2 separate regions of the Homo sapiens genome follow, and region 1 is linked to region 2. The links are contacts of gene promoters, found by promoter capture Hi-C in human tissues and cell types (Jung and others, 2019). All regions are on one chromosome and are shown on one strand. The core of a region is centred on a gene start or on the middle of the fragment in contact, and the rest is flanking DNA. Distances in the headings are between cores, read along the strand shown.

Region 1 (3,353 bases), core at 39-2,538, 52 kb before region 2:
TCCGTCCGCCTTGGCTTCCCAAAGTGCTGGGATTACAGGCATGCACATTTTCTTTTCATTGATGCCATCACGTGGAAGAGTTTTTATCACTAATTGACTGGGCTTCCCCCCTTCAAGGCTGCTCCTCAGGGTAGCCTAGCAAATTCTCTTTGGAAAGCCAGTGAGAATGGAAACGAGAGGTAGACAGATGATGGCTGTCAGACATATTGGTGATTTCAGTTGGGGCGCGGTGTCCTTAGCCTGGACCTTAGCTGTAAAATGAGAAACGATTCAATGGGCAGCTTCCTAAAGCATCTGGGAAGCCTGGGAAACACTTGTGTTTTAAAGAACAACCCTGACCTCTTTCAGGAACAGTCCTGATCTTACTGCCCTTATCTTCCAGAGCCTATCCCTGCTTTCTCCTCCTGGCAGCGGGAGAACAGTGACTCTGATGAAGCCCACCTCTCGCCGCAGGCTGGGCGCCTGATCCGTCAGCTGCTGGACGAAGACAGCGACCCCATGCTCTCTCCTCGGTTCTACGCTTATGGGCAGAGCAGGCAATACCTGGATGACACAGAAGTGCCTCCTTCCCCACCAAACTCCCATTCTTTCATGAGGTATGTTTCTCTGTGTTGCTGATAGACAAATGCATCATCCCCACAACATCAGAAAAGAGGAATGGCACTGATAGTGAATAATTTTTTTTAATTAAGTCGTGAGCCTATGGAGCAACATATTTGAAATTCTCCATCCTAGGACACAGGCCATGTTGTAGTTTCCCATTTGAGCTGTGGCCCAACTGCAACATCACATATTGAATTTTCTTAGCGTCTCCTTTCCAAAGCGCTCTCCAATTCAGCTCTTGTAGGCCCACAGGAAAGGTTGATGTCCAGTCCTACTTTGCTAATTATAAATGTGAGCTAGAAAGCCTAGATGTACTTAATAGGTGGGACATACCAAGCTCCAATGGATCACTCAAGTGTCTTTTATTCAAGAGGAGAGAGGCTGTTTTGTCTCCGCACTGCCCCCACCCCACCACCGCATGCCACATGGTGTCCCACTTCCCCAGGGCCCCTCTAGGCAAGCAGTGACTGCTCCTGGGGAAACTGACCCAAGTCGTACTCTTCACAGGCGGCGAAGCTCCTCTCTGGGGTCCTATGATGATGAGCAAGAGGACCTGACACCTGCCCAGCTCACACGAAGGATTCAGAGCCTTAAAAAGAAGATCCGGAAGTTTGAAGATAGATTCGAAGAAGAGAAGAAGTACAGAGTAAGTGTCCCCTCACACTGTTCTTTTCGCCTCATCCTCTCCCTGGACATGGCAGCATTTCAGCAACTCAAAGAAACGACGAAAGGTTAAGGGAGGCTTCTAGGGAATCTTACAACAAAAAGGCAGTAAACCCTGGATAGTACACCCTGATAAACCCCAGTCATTATGTATCAGCATTTTCCTTGCACAAGTGTATTCTTACAAAAAAAAAAATGAAAGCTTAAGTCTACATTTTATAAATTAATCAGTAAGCAGGAACTGGAGAAATTGTTGAATGAAATCCTTTGTTTGACTAAAATTTAATTCAATATTATCTTCTGAAATCTTGTTAGCACTGAGCTCGTTCTGCTGTCAGCTCTGTACCACAAGAGTGGCAAAAAGGCATTTTTGTGACGGTTGCTGAGCAAAACATCATATACCCCTCTGTTTTCTACACTGTTCGTCTTACAGGTTGAACCCTACAAATAATGGCAAGGGGGTCATGGACCTCACAGAAGTCACTGATCATAAAGATGCATTTTGCCTCTGAGGAATTTTTTGAAAGCATCACAATAACCAAATATAAAGAAGGATAATGGAATTACATTTGTGACATTTGCTCTGATTGGTCGTGTTTAATTTCTTATTCTGATGGGGCTCAACTTTTCCTTCCTATTTAAAACAAAAATGATCATCAAACACTTCTTACTTTCCCTGCTCCAGTTCCAAAGCATTTACTCTAGACTTCCTTTTCTCAGCCTTCCCACAGTGACAAAGCAGCCAATCCGGAGGTTCTGAAATGGACAAATGACCTTGCCAAATTCCGGAGACAACTTAAAGGTGGGTAAAATTCTGGAGCTGTGGCTTCTGTACAACAAGCCAGGTGCAGAATCTCTCACCTCCTCTCCCACTGAGTGCCACTGCTAAGGCATTCCCCGGTCCTTAAAGATGCTTCCCAGCACTCTCAGCTATTCAGAGTGACCACTTCCCCAGGTCTTCACATGGTCTCAGTCACAGGGCAACCCGATCAGCTAAGAGGCGAATTCTGCAGCATTTCTTCATTTCCCTGGATCACTAATAGAAGGATGATGGTTTCAAGTCAGCATCTCTCAACACCTGTTTAATCCAAGTCTCCATTTGCTGTGGTGGTAGAAGCAAACAAGTAGACACAGAGATGAATCTGCAAAGGGTATGGCCTCCATCCCTCAAAGAGATTCCCATCTTTTCAGAGACACAGTCATGTAAACAACTAAATAGAATACAAAGTGAACCTAATTTCAGAATAAGGTGTGTAAGTCATACAGAAAAGGTTGGCCAGTGGCTGGGCATTAGATCACTAAATACCTTTAACCACTGAAGGAGCAAGGATGCCACATTCTGAGAGCATCATACAGGCTGATGTGGCTAAAGCTTTCTCAGCAATTAGTGTTAGGGAAACATTCCATGTAATCAAAGAAAATGTTACCATTCTCTCAGGTTTTACATAATAATTCAGGGATTTCTACTGATACTGTAACTAGATACTCTCTGAAAAAAGAATAAGTTATTGATACTACAGAAAAACAATTTGTGTTGGGCAGACATCAAATCTCATATATCAGGCCGGGCGCAGTGGCTCACGCCTGTAATCCCAGCACTTTGGGAGGCCGAGGCAGGAGGATCATGAGGTCAGGAGATCGAGACCATCCTGGCTAACATGGTGAAACCCCGTCTCTACTAAAAATACCAAAAAAAATTAGCCGGGCGTGGTGGCGGGCACCTGTAGTCCCAGCTACTCAGGAGACTGAGGCAGGAGAATGGCGTGAACCCAGGAGGCGGAGCTTGCAGTGAGCCGAGATCGTGCCACTGCACTCCAACCTGGGCGACAGAGCGAGACTCCATCTCAAAATAAATAAATAAATAAATCTCATATATCTTTACCCCCAAATCTTCTCAACTAGAATCAAAACTAAAGATATCTGAAGAGGACCTAACTCCCAGGATGCGGCAGCGAAGCAACACACTCCCCAAGAGTTTTGGTTCCCAACTTGAGAAAGAAGATGAGAAGAAGCAAGAGCTGGTGGATAAAGCAATAAAGCCCAGTGTTGAAGCCACATTGGAATCTATTCAGAGGAAGCTCCAGGAG
Region 2 (3,188 bases), core at 528-3,027:
TAAGATGATTTCACTGTATTTGCTTCTAAGTTTACTATCTGTAAAATGAGAAACATCATTCCTAATCTCAAGGCAGCTGTAGCCATCAAAAGAGATGATATATGGGAGTGAGAAAGAAGGCAGAGAAGATGGTGAGCCAGTAAGAAGATGGTGAGCAGGGTAAAGAAGACGGTTGGGGGAAGGTGGTGAAGACCGTGGGGGAAGGTGGGGAAGAAGACAGATCGTGGGGAAGAAGATGGTGGGCAGGGTGGGGAAGAAGAGGGTGGGGCTGCGTGGGTGGGTGGGGAGGAAGAGGGTGGGGCTGGGTGGGTGGGTGGGGAAGAAGAAGGCGGGGCTGGGGGTGGGTGGGAAGAGGGTGGGGCTAGGGGGTGGGGAAGAAGAGGGTGAAGAGGGTGAGGAAGAAGAGGGTGAGGAGCGTGAGGAAGAAGAGGGTGAAGAGGGTGAGGAAGAAGAGGGTGAGGAGCGTGAGGAAGAAGAGGGTGAAGAGGGTGAGGAAGAAGAGGGTGAGGAGCGTGAGGAAGAAGAGGGTGAAGAGGGTGAGGAAGAAGAGGGTGAGGAGCGTGAGGAAGAAGAGGGTGAAGAGGGTGAGGAAGAAGAGGGTGAGGAGCGTGAGGAAAAAGTTCGGTGGGGGGAAGGTGAGGAAGAAGGCAGTGGGTGAGGAAGAAGGGGGTGAGGAGGGTGAGGAAGGTGGGGAAGAAGAGGGTAAGGAGGGTGGGGAAGAAGAGGGTGAGGAAGGTGGGGAAAAGGACAGTGCGGCGGGGGGAAGGTGAGGAAGGAGGCAGTGAGTGGGGAAGAAGGCGGGGAAGAAGATGGGCAGAAGGTGGGGCATAAGTCAGTGCGGGGGAGGGGCAGGAGGGAGGGAGAAGATGTGGTGTGGAAAGGTGTGAAAACAGATAGTGGGGAAGGCAGGGAAGCAGACGGTGTTGGGGGAAGGCAGGGAAGACGAATGTGAGCGGGGTGGGATAGATGGCACATGCTTTAACCAAGATAAGAGGGGGCCTTGGCCCTGGGCCCCATGCTTTAGAAAGACTTGCTTTTTTTCAGCCCTCCTCAAGCTTTAGTCCTTCCCACAGGCCAAAGATTCTGTAGGATCTTCTAGAACACACACCAGGACACCGGGAGCTCTGAGATTTCCTACCCAAATGGCTCCAAAACTGCTTCCAGGGGAGTCCTGCTGAGAGACGACCTTGCCACCAAGATATATGCCGCTAGGTGTGTGGGATGGCCAAGGGGGTGTTGGGTGGACACATAGGTACAGAGCTTGGATATGCAAGCTGCCCTATCCACACACATGCACCCCAGGTCCCCAAAGGGGTGGAATGGAGCCAGCTTGCCCGTTCCTCCACTGCATGGAGAGGAATGCGGAGGAATCTAAGAGGTGATCAAACGCCAGCTATGGAGAGAGATGCAGAGGAAAGCGAAGACATATGCACTGGCATTTGTAGAAGGGCCTGGATGGGGGTGAGGAGCACACGGAAAATGGTCTGAGGCCATCTATGCAGTTCCTGAAGAAGCACCTCGGGCAGCTACTGACACTCCCAGCCCAGCTCTACAGGGGTGGGTACATGGGTGGGCTGGGAACAGGGTGTCTGTCCAACAGGCGGGTGTTGAGGGCCCAGAAGATGTCAGGGTAGCAACAGGAGGAATCTGGTGCAGTATGAGCACACGGCCGTCAGCTGATAGTGGGAAGCCAGTCAAGTGCCGCGAAAGCAGGAGGCGGGGCCGCGGCCAACGTCATTCCCGCGGCCGCACGTCACCGCCACTTGCCGCATCCGCAAGATCTCTCTGGACCAGCTCGGGTGCAGGGCCTCTGCGGGAGCCCTCCTAGACCTCTGCGGCTTCTCCTCTAACATGGCCGACTCGGAAAACCAGGGGCCTGCGGAGCCTAGCCAGGCGGCGGCAGCGGCGGAGGCAGCGGCAGAGGAGGTAATGGCGGAAGGCGGTGCGCAGGGTGGAGACTGTGACAGCGCGGCTGGTGACCCTGACAGCGCGGCTGGTCAGATGGCTGAGGAGCCCCAGACCCCTGCAGAGAATGCCCCAAAGCCGAAAAATGACTTTATCGAGAGCCTGCCTAATTCGGTGAAATGCCGAGTCCTGGCCCTCAAAAAGCTGCAGAAGCGATGCGATAAGATAGAAGCCAAATTTGATAAGGAATTTCAGGCTCTGGAAAAAAAGTATAATGACATCTATAAGCCCCTACTCGCCAAGATCCAAGAGCTCACCGGCGAGATGGAGGGGTGTGCATGGACCTTGGAGGGGGAGGAGGAGGAGGAAGAGGAGTACGAGGATGACGAGGAGGAGGGGGAAGACGAGGAGGAGGAGGAGGCTGCGGCAGAGGCTGCCGCGGGGGCCAAACATGACGATGCCCACGCCGAGATGCCTGATGACGCCAAGAAGTAAGGGGGGCAGAGATGGATGAAGAGAAAGCCCACGAAGAAAAAAGCCTGGTTTTGTTTTTCCCAGAATATCGATGGACTTAAAAAGGCTCAGGTTTTTGACCAAAATACAATGTGAATTTATTCTGACATTCCTAAAATAGATTAAATTAAAGCAATTAGATCCTGGCCAGCTCGATTCAAATTTGACTTTCATTTTGAACATAATAAATATATCAAAAGGTGTTAAAGAAAACTGAATTAAACCCAAAATTATGTTTTCATGGTCTCTTCTCTGAGGATTGAGGTTTACAAAGGGTGTTAGCAGATGCGAAGTAAAGAACGTCACTTTGAAACCCATTCATCACACAGCATACGCTACACATGGAACACCCAAGCCATGACTGAACACGTTCTCAGTGCTTAATTCTTAAATTTCTTTACTCATGACATTTCGCAGTGCAGAGAAGGCAGAACCCAAGAAAAACGTCATCTTTGAGACTTTGCTTTTGTAACGCAGACATCAGCTTTACACTTCACAGGAGATTGATGGCATTGAGGAAGATTGCAATGGAGATCATGACACTACTGTTAATAAGGCCAGGAAAACTGCCATTTCAAGTTCTGAAAAATGTTTTGAGTATTTGAATTTAGAGAAACAACATGGTTCCAAGAAGGAGGGTGTAAAACCTGTAAAATACTGTCAACATATGTATTCATTAGTTACAATCTCATGTTTGTGTTTTCTTAGTACTGTCTATTTACAAACACGTAAAAAATACCCCAAATATGTTTAAGTATTAAATCACTTTA

Evidence for each region. The method cuts DNA at HindIII sites, captures the fragments that hold promoters and counts their contacts. A contact is called where the count stands out against the background at its distance.
Region 1: a fragment that was not itself captured here is called in contact with the fragment with the promoter of NAP1L5 in region 2 in 4 of the 25 tissues and cell types used here (adrenal gland, aorta, dorsolateral prefrontal cortex and 1 more).

Annotation. Positions count from the first base shown.
Region 1 is chr4:88,747,667-88,751,019 of GRCh38, reverse strand. FAM13A (family with sequence similarity 13 member A) reads left to right here. Exons shown (of 24, transcript NM_014883.4): 15 at 383-596; 16 at 1,111-1,249; 17 at 1,987-2,068; 18 at 3,169-3,353. Among named protein-coding and RNA genes, the nearest start is that of FAM13A-AS1, 40 kb to the right of the region's middle. The HindIII fragment of the contact is 6,921 bases long and covers 1-3,353 here.
Region 2 is chr4:88,696,418-88,699,605 of GRCh38, reverse strand. NAP1L5 (nucleosome assembly protein 1 like 5) reads left to right here and starts at 1,777. Exons shown (of 1, transcript NM_153757.4): 1 at 1,777-3,188. The coding sequence starts at 1,852. The coding sequence ends at 2,400. The region is part of intron 23 of HERC3 (HECT and RLD domain containing E3 ubiquitin protein ligase 3); the gene reads right to left. RefSeq lists an enhancer at 1,628-1,687. The HindIII fragment of the contact is 8,909 bases long and covers 1-3,188 here.